Regions from separate parts of the Homo sapiens genome. Here region 2 is linked to region 1. Evidence: promoter capture Hi-C in human tissues and cell types (Jung and others, 2019). All regions are on one chromosome and are shown on one strand. Each heading gives the region's core, a stretch centred on a gene start or on the middle of the fragment in contact. The rest is flanking DNA. Distances are from core to core; before and after follow the strand shown. Region 1 holds the start of C1orf146 (chromosome 1 open reading frame 146). Region 2 overlaps LOC105378856 (a long non-coding RNA gene).

The links. Contacts are between HindIII fragments. The study calls those that stand out against the background at their distance.
Region 2: a fragment that was not itself captured here is called in contact with the fragment with the promoter of C1orf146 in region 1 in 2 of the 25 tissues and cell types used here (heart left ventricle and stomach).

The regions. Positions count from the first base shown.
Region 1 is chr1:92,214,078-92,219,784 of GRCh38, forward strand. C1orf146 (chromosome 1 open reading frame 146) reads left to right here and starts at 3,838. Exons shown (of 6, transcript NM_001012425.2): 1 at 3,838-3,971. The HindIII fragment of the contact is 16,370 bases long and covers 1-5,707 here.
Region 2 is chr1:91,488,814-91,494,656 of GRCh38, forward strand. It overlaps LOC105378856 (a long non-coding RNA gene), which reads right to left. Exons shown (of 3, transcript XR_947599.4): 2 at 2,191-2,311; 3 at 208-422. Among named protein-coding and RNA genes, the nearest start is that of CDC7, 9.1 kb to the right of the region's middle. The HindIII fragment of the contact is 7,632 bases long and covers 1-5,843 here.

The sequences.
Region 1 (5,707 bases), core at 2,588-5,087:
TAATAAAGACGGGGTTTCACCATGTTGGCTAGGCTGGTCTTGAACTCCTGGCCTCAAGTGATCCACTCACCTCAGCTTCCTAAAGTGCTGGGATTACAGGCATGAGCCACTGTGCCTGGCATTAGGAGTGGTTCCAATTTTAAATGAGAAAGTCAAGGTGGGCTTTATTTTGAAAGATGATAGTTGAGCTAAGATTTGAAGGAGGACAGATAGTTATGAAGACATTGGGGAGAGAGAGCATGCCAGACATAAAAGCTGGTGCAAAATCCCTGAGGCAGGTGCATGCCTGACAGTTAAAAGAAGCAAGGAGGGGGCCAATGGGCCTGGAACAGAGGATGCAAGTGGGAGAGATAGTAGCAGATGAGGCCAGATGGGTAATGGGATGATATGGTTTGGCTGTGTCCCCCACCCAAATCTCATCTTGAATTGTAATTCCCATAATTCCCACGTGTCAAGAGCAGAACAGGTGGAGATCGTTGAATCATGGGGGTGGTTTCTGCCATGCTGGTTCTCATGATGGTGAGTGAGTTCTCACGAGATCTGATGGTTTTATAAGGGGTTTTGCCCTTCACTCGGCACTCACTCCTTCCTGCCGCCCTGTGGGGGAGGTGCCTGCTTTTCTTTTGCCTTCTGCCATGATTGTAAGTTTCCTAAGTCCTCCCAAGCCATGTGGAACTGTGAGTCAATTAAAACTTTTTCCTTTATAAGTTCCCCTGTCTCAGGTATTGCTTCGTAGAAGTGTGAGAATGGACCAATACAGGGGAATTGGACCATGTTGGCTATCATAAGGATTTTAGCTTTAATTCTGAGAGGTTTGAGAGCCATTAGATGGTGTTTGTTTGTTTGTTTTGTTTTGAGACGTAGTTTCACTCTTGTTGCCCAGGCTGGAGTGCAATGGTGCAATCTCGGCTCACCACGACCTCCACCTCCTTGGTTCAAGCAATTCTCCTGCCTCAGCCTCCTGAGTAGCTGGGATTACAAGCATCCACCACCATGCCTGGCTAATTTTGTATTTTTAGTAGAGACAGGGTTTCTCCATGTTGGTCAGACTGGTCTTGAACTCCTGACCTCAGGTGATCCACCCGCCTCGGGCTCCTAAAGTGCTGGCATTATAAGCGTTGAGCCACTGTGCCTGGCCTGTTTTTTTATTTTTTTTTTTTTGAGAGCAATTATATGGTTTTAAGCAAAGGAAAGACACAATCTGACTTCTGTTTCAAAGGATTACCCTGGTTGCTATGTTGAAAAAAGACTTTAGGGGCAAGGTGAAAACGGAAACCTGTTAGGAGTCTATTGCAATAATCCAGGTGAAAGCTGATGGTGGCTCAAACCAGAAAGGTGGTCAGGCTCTGGATATATTTTGAAAGTACAGGCAACAAGACTTCCTGATGGCTGAAAAGGGTATGTAAGACAGTCAAAGTATTTAAATAAAATATGTGTAATCTTTAATTGAGATAAGGAAGACTATAGATGGTGCAGCATTGGGAGGGGAAGTCAGAAGTTCAGTTTTGGACATGTGAAATTTGAGATGTCTATTACTGGAAATATTAAACAGCAATTGGTTATACCAGTTTGGAGTTCAGGGGAAAGGCCAGGGCTGTAGATAGATATTTGGAATTTGTCAGCACATGGATGATATCTAACACTATGAGTTAAGGAGGACACCAAAGTAACAAATATACCCAGAGAAGAAAAGAGGTCCAAGGACTGAGCTTGCGGCACTCCAAGCAAGATTAAAAGGTTGGGTTTTGAGGAAGAACCAATAAGGATGCTGATAAATGGCCAGTGAGGCTGGAGGGAAACCATGAGAGCATGATATGGGGAAGCCAAGGAAAGAAAGTTTTTCCAGGAGGAGGGAATGATCAACTGTAACAAGTACTGCTGATTGACCAAGTAAAATTAGTATTGACAGCTGTTTGCTGGATTTACCAATGACTTTGACATGAGCAATTTCTGTGGTATGGTGGAAATGAAAAAGTCTGATTGGAATAAATTTGATAAAGAATGGGAAAAAAGGGCATTAGCAACAGAAATTATAGACAATCCTTTTGAGTTTTTCTGTAAAGAGAGCAGAGAAATGGATTGTTAGCTGGTGTGGGAGAGGAGATTAAGAGATTTTAAGATGAGAGAAATAATGGCATATTTATTTGCTATTGAGACTATTCAGTGGAGAGGAGAAAATTGAAGATTGTAAGAGTCAGGAAATAATTGGTGGATATATATATATATATATATATATATATATTTTTTTTTTTTTGAGACAGTTTTGCTCTGTTGTTCAGGCTGGAGTGCAGTGGCATGATCTTGGCTCACTACAACCTCTGCCTCCCAGGTTCAAGCAATTCTCCTGCCTCAGCCTCCCAAGTAGCTGGGACTACAGGTGTGCACCACCACACCTGGCTAATTTTTTGTATTTTTAGTAGAGATGAGGTTTTGCCATATTGGCCAGGCTGATCTTGATCTCCTGACCTTGTGATTCACCTGCCTCAGCCTCCCAAAGGGCTGGGATTACAGGCGTGAGCCACCGCGACTGGCCGGTGGAGCTATATTCTTGGGTAAGCAAGAAGAGATGGGCTCTGTTGTCCATTTGAGGGCTGGCCTTACATAGGATTATACAGTTCACCTACTATAGTTGGAAAGAAAGCAGAATCTGGCATATAGATGTTGGTAGATTGGTAGGTGGACATCTGTGGAACTTCGTTTCTGGATGCTTTTATTTATCTCATTTGAATAGTATTTAATATTAAATACTAAATACTATTAAAATCATAAATCTTTATGAAATATTAGCAGTAACTATTTCACTTCAGCCGAAAATGAAGATGAGGAATAAGTTCTGGAGATTTGAAGAGAGGAGGAATTGTCTTAGTCCATTATGGCCACGATAACAAAATACCTTAGACCAGGTAATTTATAAACAAGAGGCCAGGTGTGGTGGCTTAACAAACTGCCCAAATGAGGCAGCAAGAGTGCACCTAATTTTAATATCAGTTATACAAAATGCCAAACATACAAAATGGTTATCACAGGGAAAAATTAACAGCACATCACAAGTGTGCTCCAAAGGATTTTTCCTGGAGCACCTTTCTTTCTACAGGAATACCTGTTTTACAAAGTAAGGCACATAGTTTTGTATCCTAACCATTAGGCTCAAGGCAAGTAGTGGTCTTTGTCTTTTTACATTTTTATGATTGTGACACTTAATAAATTGCTGAGCTTCAATTAGGTCTGAACATAATGGGGTCCTAAAAAGCAAACACACAGGCCCCTGTATGTCCTTTTGACAGCTGCTCATGAAAATCTACCTTTTTCATAATTTGGATAAACTGAAGGCCACTTTGATTTTATGTTGCAAATGACAGAAATCTAAGAATTGAGCCTGAATTTTAGAAAACTGTGAAAATCAATTCCGGACAACTGAGTCTAACACGCAAAAATCTTGTTTTTTTTTTTTTTTTTTTTTTGAGACGGAGTCTTGCCCTGTCACCCAGGCTGGAGTGCAGTGGTGCGATCTCGCTCACTGCAACCTCCGCCTCCTGGGTTCAAGCGATTCTCCTGCCCCAGCCTCTCGAGTAGCTGGGATTACAGGTGCGCGCCTCCATGCCCAGCTAATTTTTGCATTTTTAGTAGAGACGGGGTTTCACCATGTTGGTACGCTGGTCTCAAACTTCTGACCTCGTGATCCGCCCACCTCGGCCTCCCAAAGTGCTGGGATTAGTGGCATGAGCCACCGCGCCAGGCCTACAAATCTTGTATCTTCTTAACCACTTCCGGCTTCCTGCAAACCTCGCTCTAGGGAGCCAGAAGCGCGGAAAAGGTTTGCGGGGTCTGCGGTTGCGCAGAAGCCCAGCGACTGCAGAACCCTGCCCCAGGCACCCTGGGCGCTCTGCCCTACCGGCGGCGCCTCTCACTGCTCACGGAACGTTCTGGAAGTTTGGGAAACCCTGAGCGGTCTCTGAGGACCTGGTGAGCAGGTGGGTTTGCAGCGCTGGGGATGAGGCCTCGGCAGACCTGTCTCTTCGCGTTTTTCTTTCTTCGTTCTTCGCCGGCGTAGTGCTCTCTGACTTGCCGAGCTCAGAGCTTTACCTCAGGGCTTTGGCGGGTGAGGGGAGGAGATCCTGCCCACCCTATTTTCCCCTTGAGAATCGGTGTGGAAAGGGCTCCCTCGGGGTTTTCCCTGTCAGAAGTCCGTCACCCACCTGCGAGTGTAAATTTTATTTGCTTTAGGCTTTGTTGGTCACTCCGAAAAGTAAAGAATGGAAGAGACCGTGAAGATCCTTGTAGGCCGGCGCCTCACTGGACCCGTGAGGAGACTGAGCAGGGAAAGTGACTTGCTGGAGATGATGGGGCAGTGTTAAACTTAAATTTGCAAACACTCCAGAGCTTGGAAAAAACAAAACAGTAGCAACAAAAGCCCAGAATACCAGGGCCTTGGAACTGGCAAAGGTTTAAGAGGCCACTGGGCCCACGCTTTTTGTTTTTATTTTTAATTTAACTTTTATGTTAGGTTCAGGAGTCCGTGTGCAGGTGTGTTACATAGGTTAAACTCGTGTCACGGGAGTTTGTTGTCCAGATTCTGTCGTCCCCCAGGTGCCCATTAGTGACTGTCCCTCCTCCACCTTCTGGTCCCCCGGTCCCGTCCCCCGCGCCTGCCCCTCCCCTCTGTCCCTGCACGCTCAGCGTTCACCTCCCGTTTAGAAGCTTTTTGTTTTCAGGTGAGGATGCAGCCTAACCAGAGGTGACGTGATTTGCCCAAAGCCACACAGTCCTTGCTTGGCTGCTGGTCGAGGAGCTTTTCCCCAGAAATGCTGAGAAGGCACTGCCCCAGCCCCAGGTTTCTGATTCATTCCTCACCTTTAACAGGGACTTGGGACACGACTGACCCCACTCCTTTCTCACTTATTGTGCACGTGATTACTTTACTTCTCTTAGCTTTAGTTAAATTGTTTTTAAAACCTATGTATAAGGGTGTAAAGATTTAAATGAACATTTATGGATTACTAACTGATAGGCACAAACATACATATCCACATACATACCAGTAACTACTCCAAAAAGTTCTTGTAACCTTTGCATATATGTATTCATAGCTATGTGGGTGTATTAGTAAGTATGTGTAGGGGGGGTTATAGAAGTTGAAGCCCTTCCCCCAGCCAACTCACCATTTACTCATTCACAAATCTTTGAGTGTCTACTGAGTGCCAGGTGCTGAGTAAGGTAAAACAGAATCAGAATGTGTCCCTGCTCTCATGGAGCTAGTTAACTTCTCATTCATTCATTCATGCAATAAATGAGGAAATTAGAGAGCAGCTGGTTTCAACTCAGCAGGAAGAACTTTCTAATTATTAAAGTTGTTGAAAAGTAGAATGAAATCACCTTGGGAGATACTAACTTACCATCACTGAAAGTGACTTTCTCTTTCTTTTTTTTTTTTTTTTTTTTTTTTTAAGACAGAGTCTCGCTCTATCACCCACGCTGGAGTGCAGGAATGGGATCTCAGGTCACTGCAACCTCCACCTCCTGGGTGTGCAGCCACACCTAAGGAATGGGGAGTTATATTCCCCACCCCCACTGTTTAATATTTTTAGAGACAGGGTCTTGCTATGTTGCCCAGGCTGGAGTACAGTTGTTATTTACAGGTGCAAACATAATGCACTGCAGCCTCAAACTCTTGGCCTTAAGCAATCCTCCTGCTTCAGTCTCCCGAGTA
Region 2 (5,843 bases), core at 1,778-4,277, 730 kb before region 1:
GCTCTAAATTTTGAGACATTTGTGGTACTCTAGCCTTTTCATGTGGCTAGAGAGAGAATAATGTACTAGAGAACATAAGTATCAACATAGAATTTGAACCATTCAGAAGGACTAGAATCATTGTTATTGAAGGATGTTGAAGAATTTTATTGACTTTACCACAACCCATTCCCAGCTACACAAGTGGCAGCAAGAAAAGACTCTGTGTGTCTTTCCCTTCACTTTAATAGAGGCACTGAGTATTGCTGGCTTCTCCTCCCTCCTCATGTCAAAATTAAATGCCAGTCACTGTCCATCCATGGTCATGCTGTTAACAAAGACTTCAGCAAAGAGACTCCTGCAATATTTCCTCCATCTCCTGCCTTGTGGAGGATCATGGGACAAGTGTATTTTTTCACATAGAAAGATTAAGCTGCTGCTCTCTTGTCAAGAAAAAGAAACTACCATTAGAAAGCACTAGTCACAATTCTGAGCTGTTGTAATTAACAAATACTAAGTAAATATTTGTGTGCTTTGTTTCTCCATATTAAACAACTGATGTATTGTATGGTAAAAATTTCTTCTGCACGCCTTAGTGACATTTGGTTTATTTGTATGTTGACTTCACAATGCAAGCTGCAATTATGACGCTCACAAGTTGGCAAACTTTTCGCATAAAGGGCCAGCTAGTAAATATTTTCGATTTTGTGGGCCACACATCTCTGTGGCAGCTACTCAACTCACCTCTGCCATTGTAGAGTGAAAGCAGCCATAGACAATACCAAACAAATGAGCATGGCTGTGTTCCAATAAAACTTTATTTATGAACACTAGAATTTGATTTTTATATAATTTTCATGTGTCCCAAATATTCTTTTATACATTTTTTTCAATAACTTAAAAGTGTAAAATCCATTCTTAGCTTGCAGTGTGTACAAAAACAGGTGACAGGCTGGATTTGTCCCACAGGGGATTTGGTCTATAGTTCTCAGACCACTGTGATGCTCCAAACTCAAACTTACGAGAGTCAAGTTTATCACTATATTTAAAGCTTCAAAGTTAATTGTGCCTATGCCTCCATTTAAAATTTATTTTAGGGTCAGGCATGGTGGCTCATGCCTGTAATCCCAGCACTTTGGGAGGCCAAGGTGGGCAGATCACCTGAGGTCAGGAGTTTGAGACCAACCTCGCCAACACAATGAAACCCCATCTCTACTAAAAATACAAACTTTGGCCGGGCATGGTGGCACATGCCTGTAGTCCCAGCTACTCAGGAGGCTGAGGCAGGAGAATCACTTGAACCTGGGAGACAGAGGTTGCAGTGACCTGAGACAGCACCACTGCACTCCAGCCTGGGAGACAGAGCGAGACTCCATCTCAAAAATAAAATAAAATAAAATAAATTTATGTTAGTATTTTGGAGAAGGGGCAGTGATGGATAGCCTAACTGGAAAATTCTTCTTTGGGATAAAATTTTATATTTAAAACTTGAAACTAAGCAGATAATTGTTCTAAATCTGAAAAACCACTAGCATTAAACCCCAATTAATATTGCTGTATTAAGTTATATCTTAGTAAATTGTCTTAAATAATGGACAGTCACAACTTTATGTTTTTAAAAAATCAATATTGGCTAATTACAATCTTATTCTGTAATTTTAAAACACATAAGAATATGAAAAGTTTTGTATAGTATTGATACATCGTTTTTAAAATGTGCTCTTAAGCATATTTCTTTTCCAGCAAAAAGGCACCAACACAAAGGGCCTGAACTTGAAATTTCTAGGGATTTTTCAAAATCTTAAATCATCTTCTTTAAAGATAACAAACAATTGGAAGTCAAGCCATTAAGATTTCATCATACTGGATATTTTTCCCATTAATAGCTGAACTGATATAATCAGCACATTTCAGAGTAGTACCAGATGCTAGCAAGTTTCAGTCCCTGGAGACGAAACTTGACATATCACAGTACTTGCTCCTTGACCTCCCAGTCCTAATAGTATTTGACTATATACTGGAGCCCTGGGAATGTACAGAAATCTCAATTTTCATAAGTTTGCATTTAAATTCTTAAAATATGAATTTGGTCCTGTGAGTCTCTCTGAATTTTAGTAATAATAACAGGATTTTTTTCTCCAGAGTGTTTGAAATCTGTATATCTTAGGAGGAAAATATGTGTTATTTGTTTTCTTTGCATGCTGTAATTACCTTTAGGTGCAACATATTTATTTCATACTATAAATACTTTTTCTCCCTTGGTAGATTTGCAGGTTTTTTTTTTACCAAGTTCCCATTCTTCACGTTTTTAGTTTTTGAAATTGGGTTGCAACTAGCCACAGGTACCACCAAAAAAAAAAAAAAGATAAATGAATAGATATAAAACAACACTAGATAGATAAATAATTATTATACTCAACTGTTTGGGTTCCTTTTAAAAAAATTGTCTTTAATCTACTCCTGAGAGATTTGTATCTCTTTAAACTGCTACAGGACAATAGGACAAAAATTAGTATCTTTTTTTCAATAATAGAGCATGAAGTTACCTGTACTTGAAAATTGAATTTCAAATTGAAGTCAGCCTGAGCAAGTTATTTGCTAGCCAAGTTGAAAAAACTTTAAAAAATATATAGTTGAGATCTCCTGGAAAACTGGATATCCACATGCAAACGAATAAAGTTGGGGCCAGGCACAGTGGCTCACACCTGTAATCCCAGGACTTTGGGAGGCCCAGGCGGGCAGATCACCTGAGGTCAGGAATTCGAGACCAGCCTGGCCAAAATGGTGAAACCCGTCCCTACTAAAAGTACAAAAATTAGCCGAGCGTGATGGCAGGCACCTGTAATCCCAGCTACTCAGGAGGCTGAGGCAGGAGAATCACTTGAGCCCGGAAGGCGGAGGTGACAGTGAGCCGAGGTCGTGCCACTGCACTCCAGCCTGGGTGAAAAGAGCGAGACTCCATCTCAAAAAAAAAAAAAAAAAAAAAAGAATGAAGTTGGACCCTTACCTAACACCATCTACAAATATTAACTCAAAATAGATCAAAGATCTAAACAAAGAGCTAAAACCATAAAACTCTTAGAAGAAAACAAAGGGCCAAATTTTCTCAACATTAGATTTGACAATGATTTCTTGAATGTGACACCAAAAGCACAGGCAACAAAAGGAAAAAATAGACAAACTGTACTTTATGAAAATTTAAGCTTTTGGGATTGTTTCCTTTGGGGAGTAAAAACAAAACAAAATCTTTGTGCATCAAAAGACACTATTAATAAAGTAAAAAGTCAACCCACACAATGGGAGAAAATATTGTCAAGTTATACATCTGATAAGGGATTAATACCCTGAATATAAAAGAACTCCTAAAATTCAACAATTAAAAAAATTCAAAAAATTGGAAAAAGCCTTTAATATACTTTTCTCCATAGAAGATATACAAATGGTCACAAACACATGAAAAGATGCTCAACATCAAAAATTACTTGGGAAATGCAAGTCATAACCACAGTGAGATTCCACCTCACATCCATTAGGATGGCCACCATTAAAAAAAAAAAGTGTTGGCAAAAATATGGGGAAATTAGAACTCTGTGCACTGTTGGTAGAAATGTAAAATGGTGCAGCTGCTGTGGAAAACAGTATGGTAGTTCATCAAAAGCTAAAAATAGAATTACCATATGATCTAGCAATTCCACCGCTAGGTACATACTCAAAAGAATCAAAAGGGTCTCCCATGTATACCAATGTTTATAGCAGCATTATTCACAATAGCTAAAACATGGAAGCAACCCAACTGTTCATGACAGATGAATGGATAAGCAAAATGTGATACAGTCATCCCTTGGTATCCATGGGGGATTGGTTACCAGACCCCTCACAGATACCAAAATTCACAGATCCTCAAGTCCCTTATATAAAATGGTGTAGTATTTTCACATAATCTATCCAATCCTCCCATATATTTTAAATCATTCTAGATTACTTATAATACCTAATACAATGTAAATGATATGTAAATAGTTGTTATACTGTATTGTTTAGGGAATTATGGCAAGAAAAAACATCTGTATATGTTCAGTCCAGATGCAAACATCTATAGTTCCCCCTGAATATTTTCAATCTCAGTTGGTTGAACCCACAGATGTGAAATCCACAGATACAGAGGTTGTAGATGCACACGATGCATCTACATACAATGGAATATTATGTAGTCTTAAACAGGAAGGAAATTCTGACATATGCTACAACACAGATGAACCTTGAGGACATTATGCTAAGTGAAATGCGCTTGCCACAAAATGACAAATCTGTATGATTCTGCCAGAGTTACTTAGAGTAGTCAAATTCATAGAAACAGAAAGTAGAATGGTAGTTGCCAGGGTCTGGGGGACTAGGGAATGAAGTTATTGTTCAATGGGTGTAGAGTTTCAGTTTTACCAGGTGAAAAGGGATCTGGAGATGGATGGTGGTGATGGTTGCACAACTACGTAAATGTATTAATACCACTGAACTGTAGTATGCTTAATGATGGTTAAGATGGTAAACTGTATGTTATGTGTATTTTACCACAATAAAAAGGAAAAAATATATAGTTGAGGTCTAATCCAAATGAAGACCTTTGTGTTCAAAGAATCCTAGATTCCAATTTCAGCTCTGCCACTTACTGGCTTGTTGTCATCGGTATTTACTTAATCTTTTTTTTTTTAAGACAGGATTGCTCTGCCTCCCAGGCTGGAGTGCAGCAGCCTGATGATCTCAGCTCACTGTAGCCTCGACCTCTCAGGCTCAGGTGATCCTCCCACCTTCACCTCCCAAGTAGCTGGGACTGGAGGTGTGCACCACCATGCCTGGCTAATTTTTGTATTTTTACTAGAGATGAGGTTTCGCCCTGTTACCCAGGCTGGTCTCAAACTCCTAGGCTCATGCAGTCCACCCACCTCAGCCTCCCAAAAGTGCTGGGATTACAGGAGTGAGCCACTGCGCCTGGCCAGTCTTTTCTAAAGCTAATATTTCTGATCTATAAAATAAGTCCAATAATTAAAGAATTAATAAGATAACACATAAAAAGATCTTACTACAGTGCCCAACTCAGTGCCTATGACAGTGTGCATCAAATGCATCCCCTTCCCTTACATTCATTATGTCAATAATTCAAATATATATCAAATGGGATCAAGAAGGAATTGCGGAGGTTTTCCCTTATAGCACTGCTATTGAACTTTTCTCATTTTTGTTTGGGATGCTTGGATGAGAGAGAAGTCTCCCAGTTTGGTTGCTAGAATTTATGTCCCTCAATGCCAGTACTATGTTCTTTTACCTCATTCAATGTCCATTTACCTCATTAAGTGGCCCAAAGTGTCCATTTCCCTCATTATTCTAATATAGGCCTAAACTTAGATATTATGTACTTACCTCAATTCCAGCTGTACCCTGAGGAAAGGGGTGGAGGGCAGAACAACTTATCCCAATTCCCTCTCAATAATTCACCAGGTTCTTATACAGAAACAGGCCTATTTTAGAGGAGCAGTGGGCCACAGAGAAAGTGCTGTCACCAGCTGGCTAGCTCTTGTTGTGAGCCCATACCTTGTGTGCAGGGAGTATCTATTCTATTTGTTCATACTCTCCCACTGTTGACTCCAAAGAAGAATACTCTGTTTTGGGTGTTTTTCTAAGGAGAGGTGTGTCTAGAGGAAAGTGCTATGTTAGTGACCCTTCTTGAACCATGACTTTGACTGCTACTGACTATCATCTTCAGGAGGAAGCCAAAAAATGGCAGAGTCAAGTCTCAATCCATCATCCAGACATGTAGGATATGCATGGAAGCCCTTCCTATGTTTAGAGCTCAGGCCATCCCTTCCCTAACC